2 separate regions of the Homo sapiens genome follow, and region 2 is linked to region 1. Evidence: promoter capture Hi-C in 16 types of primary human blood cells and fetal thymus (Javierre and others, 2016). All regions are on one chromosome and are shown on one strand. Each heading gives the region's core, a stretch centred on a gene start or on the middle of the fragment in contact. The rest is flanking DNA. Distances are from core to core; before and after follow the strand shown.

Region 1 (4,378 bases), core at 967-3,466:
TTGGAGGGACACAATTCAATCCATAACATCAAGTAACTGCACAACCTAGCTACCCTAATAAACTGAGTGTTGCCTAATCTACCACATGATAAAATTGGGCATTTGCAGGAGCATGCTATTATTAAGCGAAAATTGTATCTATATGATAAAGGAGATAAGCCCACCAGGTCCACAAGGCACAAGAAACTCAGACTAGCAGAAAACTTAGACTCTATGATGCCTGCTCCCATTGACTCAATGTCTCTCCCTCAGTGCACACCTATAGCTTCACAAGGAGTTTCCTACAACTAGGCAACAGATGAGGGAAAGGAGTCAATGTTATGCAAAGTAAGCTGGCACTAGCAATAAGTAGATGGCTGCTGCATCAGAGTCCCTCCCAGGGATGTCCTGAAACACAGCAGAAAGGGAAATCTTACTGACAAACAGAACTTTGAGCAGAACATCTGCTTTTCTATTTTGCAAGAAAAAAGAGATGGCCCAATGTAAGATCTACACTGACTCATCAGTGGTGGCTAATGTGTTGGCCAGCTGCTACCTTAAGGATTTGGAAAAAACAAGATTGAAAGACTGGTGACACAGAGGTCAAGGTGGGGGAGGCATGTGAGAGAGTCTCTTGAAATGGGCACAGGGTGTGAAGATATTTGCGTCTCATGGAGTGCCCTCCAGAGAACAAATTGACCTGTCCCGTAGATGTCAGCCAGCCTCCTGCCAGCTTCCTTGGGGCTTGCTGAATGTACAATGAGTGCCATGGTGCTGGCATGGAGATGAAGCACAGGCTTAACTCTCCAGACTTCCTTCACCGAGGCTGATGTGGCTTACCAATGCTGAGTGAGCAAAATGCTGAGAGTGAAGGGCAGCACTGAGCCCCCTGTGGCACCATTCCCCGTAGTCCGTGTTAAATGGCCTCTCTTCACAGCATCAGTTCACAGGGTCCAGTAACACCATTGACTCATCTTCCTCAGCAGTTGGAAGAGGGAGGAGGAGAGTTAGTTTCAGCCTCTGGAGTTGGGGGTGAGTGAGGATACTGATGTATCACAAGCAACTAGTGGGCAAGGGGGAAAAGATGACTGAGTTCAAAAGCAATGCCTGGATTGGAAATAAAAGATGGAAAATTGCATTAATTCATAATCATGTGGTAATGCCCCATCGGACTCTGCATTCTTAATCTTTTACCTCTACTGACAGAGAGGCTTTGCTTTTCAGCTGCTGTGAACAAGCTGAAGAGGCCTTATCCTCTTATCTGCAAGAGTGGAAGTAATCACAGGGGGCCCTAAAGGCAAATGTTTACCTGTGTATTTTATCGTGAAAGTGCCAAGGGTCCAGACCTCACCTCTCTTGTCCCACTTTATCTCCAGTACCTAGAAGGGAGGCTGGCACATTGTAACCACTCAAACATCTGTGGATGACTGGAATAAATGGGAGGATGTAGGAATGAATGAACGAATGAATAATCCTTTAGGGAACAATAGAGAGCTGGGGGAGGGAGAAGCCATACCTGATCTTTTATTCTTCTCCAAAACCCTTGAAAAGACTATGAGAGGCCGCATAGAGTAGCCATTAAGACCTTGAACTCTTAATTTAGGATCTACAACTTCCTAGCTGAATGGCTTGGCCAAGTTATTTATTCTCTGTGTACAGTCTTCCTTCCTGTAAAACAAACACAGTAAATGCTTAGAGCAGCACCTGGGAAAAAGTCAAGTTCCACATAAGTGTTACTGTCATTATTTTTGTCATCTTGATGAGTGTGTAAGCCTGCAAGACAATCGGGAAATTCCCTAGGGAGGGTGAATCCAGATACTCAGCTTCCAAGGGCCATTCAAGAGGGAACAATCACCTTTTCTCTTTGCCTTTCATACTGCTTTAGACCCCTCACTGCTTCCTAACATAACTTTCACTGGCAAGAGACGGAGTCCTGGGTTTCAGTTCCAGTTGCCTGCGGTGGGCTGTGTGAGTTTGCCAAAGTCCCCTGCCCTCTCTGGGTCTCGGTTCCCTCGCCTGTCCACGTGAGGTTGGAGGAGCTGAACGCCGACGTCATTTTTAGCTAAGAGGGAGCAGGGTCCCCGAGTCGCCGGCCCAGGGTCTGCGCATCCGAGGCCGCGCGCCCTTTCCCCTCCCCCACGGCTCCTCCGGGCCCCGCACTCTGCGCCCCGGCTGCCGCCCAGCGCCCTACACCGCCCTCAGGGGGCCCTCGCGGGCTCCCCCCGGCCGGGATGCCAGTGCCCCGCGCCACGCGCGCCTGCTCCCGCGCCGCCTGCCCTGCAGCCTGCCCGCGGCGCCTTTATACCCAGCGGGCTCGGCGCTCACTAATGTTTAACTCGGGGCCGAAACTTGCCAGCGGCGAGTGACTCCACCGCCCGGAGCAGCGGTGCAGGACGCGCGTCTCCGCCGCCCGCGGTGACTTCTGCCTGCGCTCCTTCTCTGAACGCTCACTTCCGAGGAGACGCCGACGATGAAGGTGAGTGCCGCGCCACGTACGTCCCCGGGGCGAGCTGTGGGGACCTCTTCGCCAAACTCCCCAAATGGCCCAAAAGCTGGCGAAACCGGACCAGGGACTCCCCTTAGGCGGAAGCCCCAAGGCCACCCTCTGACAGGTGAAGGGACGTCCCAGAGCTCTCGCTTAGCTTTCGGACCCTGGCTTCTGCTAGGACCCTGGCGTCGAGCTTTGAATGTCCCGGAGAGCCACTCACAGAACGCACGCCCGAACCCGGGCAGGGGTAGAGAAACCAACGCTAATGTGCTCTGAAGGCACAAGTTCAAGGGCACCCGCCTTAGAGAACTCCAACTGGCGCACTCCAGACGCCACCCCCACCCCCAGCCCGCGGTCTCCCTCTTCTAACGCACTCCCACCTGCAAATCCTGCTGCCTCTGGAGCAGCCCCGACCCTCCTACGGAAACTGGGGCCACACGCTTCCCTCTAATTGGACTTGATCTGCTCGGCTTGCAGACACCGTGGAAGGTTCTTCTGGGACTGCTGGGTGCTGCTGCGCTTGTCACCATCATCACCGTGCCCGTGGTTCTGCTGAACAAAGGCAGTAAGTTTGAAACATTTGAAAAAGATAGGACAGTTGGAGCTCAGGTCAGGCTCCGTCTTACCACGCTAAGGGAAACGAGGGATTTTGCGTGGGGTTGGACCAGTGCCCCGAAGTGTAGCTGAGAAGGCTTCCCAGTTGTTGTTGCTGCTTGTAGAGCAGCAGCTGGATTCACTTCGCGGGGTCTTCAGTGTTTAGGCTGAAACTCTTGCGGCTTTCACGTCTTGTTATGTATAATAAATGCATGCTTCCTGAAATTAGGGAGAGTCGGGATTTTTAAAATTTCAATTTTAAATTTAATTTGTAAATTTTTAAATTTACATGTAATTTTTGAGAAAAGTTTTTGGGTGTGATCGAAAAAGGAAAAAAGGCAGTGTTTAAAGAGCCCAAAGACAGCAGTAAGGATATCTGAAATGGAAAGGAAAAATGAGAAAGCAAGCCCCAAAATACAGTTTTGAGAAATGATGTTCCACAGGGAACCCAGACTGTTTTCCCTCAAGGGTGGTGAGAATTCAGTTGGAGGGTGGGGAGGCAGGGAAGTAATTGACCAATTTAGCAGTATTGCAGAGCTAAATAATAAAGCTGGTATACACGATAATATTTAAGAAGGGTCTGGAATCAGTGATGTTTTGGTGGATTCTTTTATTTAAGGACTTTCATGTCTTTTTAGCTTGCCTAAATGTATAAAACACTCACATAATGGAATACTCACTGTAGGATGCAAGCAAGTGAGAACTACTAGTTTCAGTCTCCCCTGGCCTTACTTTCCTTTTAAACACTTGCTTTCATTTCAGCATTACACACTATAAATTAGTCAGCCAGTTAAAGCATTCTCTCTGGAAGATTTAGTCAACTGAGGAATGTATAGTCAGTGCTTGCATACTCAAGGAGTCTTATCTAGATTTTAGGATGACAGTTCAGAATTAGATTGTAGAGCTATGAAAACCATGCTTGCTGTGCAATTCAAGGCCAGGGCAAATGTGCCAAAGGTTAAATAACTGAATGGGTTGACCTACTGCTAATGAAATTTGAAGAAACCAGTGGTTGCTACTATTTTATACCATTAAATGACAGTCCACTTAAGCTTGACTCTTGTGGACTGTTAAAATATAACTATTTTCATAAAGCAACTCTTTGTGTAAACCATACATGCAAAGCCTTGTGGGAGAAGAATGTGCTAGTCATACAATTGATAAATATAGGGCTTACAGGCTTACATTATGTTCCAGGCACCGCGTTAGTTGCTGCAAATACAAAGATTAAATTTTGTAAATATAAATATAAAGGCCCTGACCTCAAGGACTGTATAAGCTAGTGGGAACATGCAAACAAATATGACTTGTTTTACA
Region 2 (4,686 bases), core at 1,398-3,897, 750 kb after region 1:
ACATTCCATTGGTCAAAGCAAAATCATGGCAAGGCTAACTTCAAAGATGACAGAAAAATATAATCCTGTTATATGCCTGGAAGGTTGAAAGTCACAAATATTCATGTAATTGATGACTTTGCCTTTAATCTCTTCCCCTTTACCTGTTCTCCAAACTACCACTAGAATTACTTTTCAAAAACACAGATCAAATTACCTCACAAGTCTACTGGAAAGAAAAAAAAAATCTTCATACTTCAAAAAAAAAAAAAAGAAAGAAAGAAAATCTTCATGAAACTACAACACCTAGGGGAAAAAAGTAAAAATCACCAAGTATGGCATTCAACACCTTTCATAACCAACTTCAGACTCCTTTACCAACTTCTTTTCCCAGTATTTTCTTATGTATCTATTCTCTAGCCTTTTGAATATGCCTTGACACATATTTCAAAACTCAGCTCAAACATCATCTCCTTAGTCTCATTTTTCCCATTTTTCCCAAGTTGGTCTAATTTTTCCCAAAAGAAGTTAAACTAACCTCCACTGTACTTACAAATCACGTTATTTACAATGAGCATTAGCTTTCACTGATTCAAAGTAGTTAATGTGTACTAGGCACTTAAAACATGATTGCTTGTGTGTCTATTATAATGTAAGGCTCTGGATTAGGCATTGATATTCTTGTTCGTCTTGGAATTCGTTATAGTATATAATACCTGATACACAGAAACTCAAAATATTGACTTAACAAATTAAAACTGAAGACAAGTTACTAAATGCCACTGACATTTTGCTTAAGTTCCATCTACTTTCAAGCTTATATTGACTATTTCCAAAGCTAAAATGAACCCAGGGAGAAATCAAAATTTTTAAAAAGTACAGAATATGCTTTGGCTATTCTCATCTCTTGGGCTCTGTTTCCACTGCTTTTGGAAATCGTTTAGATGCCAAGACCTAGGTGGAGTTGTTATAAAGACAACGAAGTAGCCAAATTATGGCAACATATGTTTTTAATACAATAATCTCATACCTTTTAGTAATTTCAAGTTTGTAAGCATTTTAACAAAGAAAATCTAAAAATACATTTAAAATTTAAAGCTGTTACCTTATAAATTTTAATAGTACTAATAAAACATCTTTATTTCTGCTTCAAACTACTGGTAAGTTAAACTGAAGTGGAGGACTGAGGACAAATTTAATTATTGTAGCCTATCACTATTCAAATATTAACTTTTTTTTTTTTTGAGACATAGTCTCACTCTGTCACCCAGGCTGGAGTGCAGTGGTACTACCTTGGCTCACTGCAACCTCCACCTCCTGGGTTCAAGTGATTCTCCTGCTTCAGCCTCCTGAGTAGCTGGGATTACAGATGTGCACCACGACACCCAGGTGATTTTTGTACTTTTAGTAGAGATGGGGTTTCCCCATGTTGGCCAGGCTGGTCCTGAACTCCTAGCCTTATGTCATCTGCCCCCTCGGTCTCCCAAAGGGCTGAGATTGCAGGCATGAGCCACCAGGCCTGGCCAATATTAACATTTTAAAATGTGATATTAAAAAAAATAAAACTTAGTTGTTTTGTAGGAATGGACACCGTAATGAGAAACAGGAAAAGACAGCATGATAAAAACTAATGGAAAAGAAAGGTTTAAGATAGTAAGTGTGGAATATTGAAGTTTAGTTAAAAGAGAACTAAAAATAGGCCAATAGACTTGGCAGTTTAAAAAATTCCAGTACAGTAATACAGGAGTTGGCCAGAATGCATTCTCATGTGAGTGAACAGAGGTAATTAAGTAGATTATGGAGTTTAAGCTATTATTTCAGGAATTCTAGAAATAAATAGAAGAAAAGGTTTAATGGCAGTATGCAGTAGAGTTTTGGTTTTTGGATACAGGAGACTTAAACATCTTTGTAGGCAGAGAAAGGGGTCAATGGAGATCTGCAGTGTGTCAAGAGAACGAGATCCAAGAACAAGGAAGGAATAGCCTTGGAAAAGAGAAAAGTCACCTCCTATTTAGAGAAAATTAAGAAACTAGAATGAATGGGGACTTTGATTATTTACAAGTTCCTTTTTTACCTACTAGCCCTACTACAACTCCCAAATAAAACAACTAAGACCAAGTGGCCTCAAAAACAATGAAATATCAGTATCAACTGTGATTATAATACTGATATTCCTATATTATTACTGTGAATTCCTCCATTAAAAAAACATGACCAGGCCGGGCGCAATGGTTCACATCTGTAATCCAAGCACTTTGGGAGGCTGCAGTGGGCAGATCACTTGAGGTCAGGAGTTCAAGACCAGCCCGGCCAACTTGGTGAAACCCCACCTCTACTAAAAATAAAAAAATTAGCTGGGCGTGGAGGCTCATGCCTGTAATCCCAGCTACTTGCGAGGCTGAGGCAGGAGAATCACTTGAATCCAGGAGGGCGAGACTGCAGTGAGCTGAGATCATACCACTGTACTCCAGACTGGGCAACAAAGCAAGTCTCTGACTCAAAATAATAATAATAACAATAACATGACCAATTAGCATATAGAGCAAAGCCCAAAGACCTTTTTACTACTACTGGGTTATATTAAAGGCACTGGGACTCAAGGTGGGGTCATGTCTCTTGGAAACAACATAAAAATCAGTATCATAGTACAAGAAAAATTCAAATGAAATACTGAATTGTTTCTACAAATAATGAAGTCAAGGCTGAAAACAAGTCTTTGTTGCGTAATAATCTGGTCTTTATCCTGAGTTTCTGGCACAGAGCCTCAAAAACCCTTGGAGTTTCTTTTGTTATGCTAACACTGTGACTTAGTGCACACCCCTAGATAGCTTGCAGATGAGGGCTGATCAACATAAAGACCAACACGGTAATTAGAGGGCTAAGACTTTGAGCCAGGCCCATTTGGGAAGGGAGGATGGAGATTTGAATTTTGAGTTTGATCACCCAATGATTTAATCAATCAAGCTCATGTATGCCGAGTCCCAATAAAAACTCGGAAACCAAAGCTACACCAGGTGGAGTTCCCTGGCTGGTAAACTCACTGATGTGCAGGGAGGGTGACATGCCCTAATTCCATGAAGAGAGGGCACAGGAGCTCTGCATCTCCTCCCAGACCCCATCCTGTGTGTCTTCATTTCACTGGTCCTCCTAATCTGTATTTCTGGATAACAAAATTGTAATAATAAGCACAGCACTTTCTTGAGTTTTGTCAGTTGTTCTAGTGAATTATCAAACCTGAGGAGGTTGTGAGGACCTCCAAATTTATACTCAGGTTAAAGTGTCAGTCCAAAGTGTGGATGGCTTGGGGACACATGAAGTATAGCTGGCATCTGAAGTAAGGGTAGTTCTGTGGAGAAGTGAGCCTTTAACTTGCAGAGTCTGACAGTAACCGCCAGGTTTGTGTCAATTGGGAGTGAAACAAAATGTCTTCAAGCCAGTAAAGTAGCAACTGTTTGGACACTGATATAAAAAAAAATATGTCTTGGACATTTCGTTCATCAAAATTGGGTTATTCGTATAGATCATGATTTAAGGTGGCCTATTCACTCATAAAATGTCCATGGTTCTTGTTCTTCAATCAAGGAAATAAAATAACCTTAAGGAACTCTCAATCATATGAGGCCTTTACCTGTTCTGCTCCTGTCTACTGCCACATTTTAAGAGGGCCATCTACAAACTTACCAGCAAGTGACCTGCTCCTATTTGGGAGGGAATTCTGCCTTTTCCATTAAATGGTAAGATAACATTTCCCACTGATTTTTGGAGAGAAGGGCCAATTTGTGTCTCCTTTTTTACTACTATTGGTGCCTATGCCTTATCTAATGAAAAGATAGCTATTATCAATCCAAAGATCTTTGACTTCTTATTAAAAATAAATAATAGTCTGGGCACAGTGGCTCACGCCTGTAATCCCAGCACTTTGGGAGGCCGAGGCAGGTGGATCACTTGAGGTCAGGAGTTCAAGACCAGCATGGCCAACATGGTGAAACATAGTCTCTACTATAAATTCAAAAATCGGCTGGGCGTGGTGGTGAACGCCTGTAATCCCAGCTACTTGGGAGGCTGAGGCAGAAGAATCACTTGAACCCAGGAGGCAGAGGGTACAGTGAACCGAGATCATGCCATTGCATTCCAGCCTGGGCGACAGAGTGAGACTCCATCTCAAAAAAAAATTATAATAAATAAATAAATAATAAACAACATTCTTATTAGGCAAAAAAATACACTTAACGTTTCATGTTACAAAAGTAACATCATAAGTATTTGTCAAATTATTCCTATAACAAGATAAAATAAAATTTTAGAGAAAAAGAAAATTACACCTAGTATAGGATAAGGGAGATACCATAAAAATAAGAGTTCCACAAATTAGAGTTTATCATCTAATTGAGATGAAATGATTCTTAAGCAGATTTTTAACTTCAAAAAAGAGTACAAACTAAGGACACAATGGCTGATTAATCAGAAACCAATAAGGTTACTGAAAAAACATTAAGTTTTTCACTTGATATAAAGCTTTGAAGTCGCCATTGACATATAATGTAGCTCAATTTGTGGTCAGTAAAACCATTATTTCATGTCCAGGGGTTTTCCAGCATGGATTTCCAAGATGGGTAATTTATTGTATCTATGCTTAAGGAAAGTTATTTTTATATTTAAATTTGATACAACTTTCCTTAAGAATTCTAAGGCAACATCTTCACCTAT

The links. The method cuts DNA at HindIII sites, captures the fragments that hold promoters and counts their contacts. A CHiCAGO score of 5 or more calls a contact.
Region 2: a fragment that was not itself captured here is called in contact with the fragment with the promoter of DPP4 in region 1 in 1 of 17 cell types (fetal thymus); the score reaches 5.3 in fetal thymus.

Annotation. Positions count from the first base shown.
Region 1 is chr2:162,072,053-162,076,430 of GRCh38, reverse strand. DPP4 (dipeptidyl peptidase 4) reads left to right here and starts at 2,216. Exons shown (of 26, transcript NM_001935.4): 1 at 2,216-2,455; 2 at 2,945-3,032. The coding sequence starts at 2,450. DPP4-DT (DPP4 divergent transcript) reads right to left here and starts at 1,574. Exons shown (of 3, transcript NR_147697.1): 1 at 1,496-1,574; 2 at 820-953. RefSeq lists a promoter at 35-1,811, enhancers at 1,366-2,063, 2,498-2,697 and a silencer at 2,088-2,347. The HindIII fragment of the contact is 4,875 bases long and covers 1-4,115 here.
Region 2 is chr2:161,320,200-161,324,885 of GRCh38, reverse strand. The region is part of intron 3 of PSMD14 (proteasome 26S subunit, non-ATPase 14); the gene reads right to left. Among named protein-coding and RNA genes, the nearest start is that of PSMD14, 14 kb to the right of the region's middle. The HindIII fragment of the contact is 3,699 bases long and covers 798-4,496 here.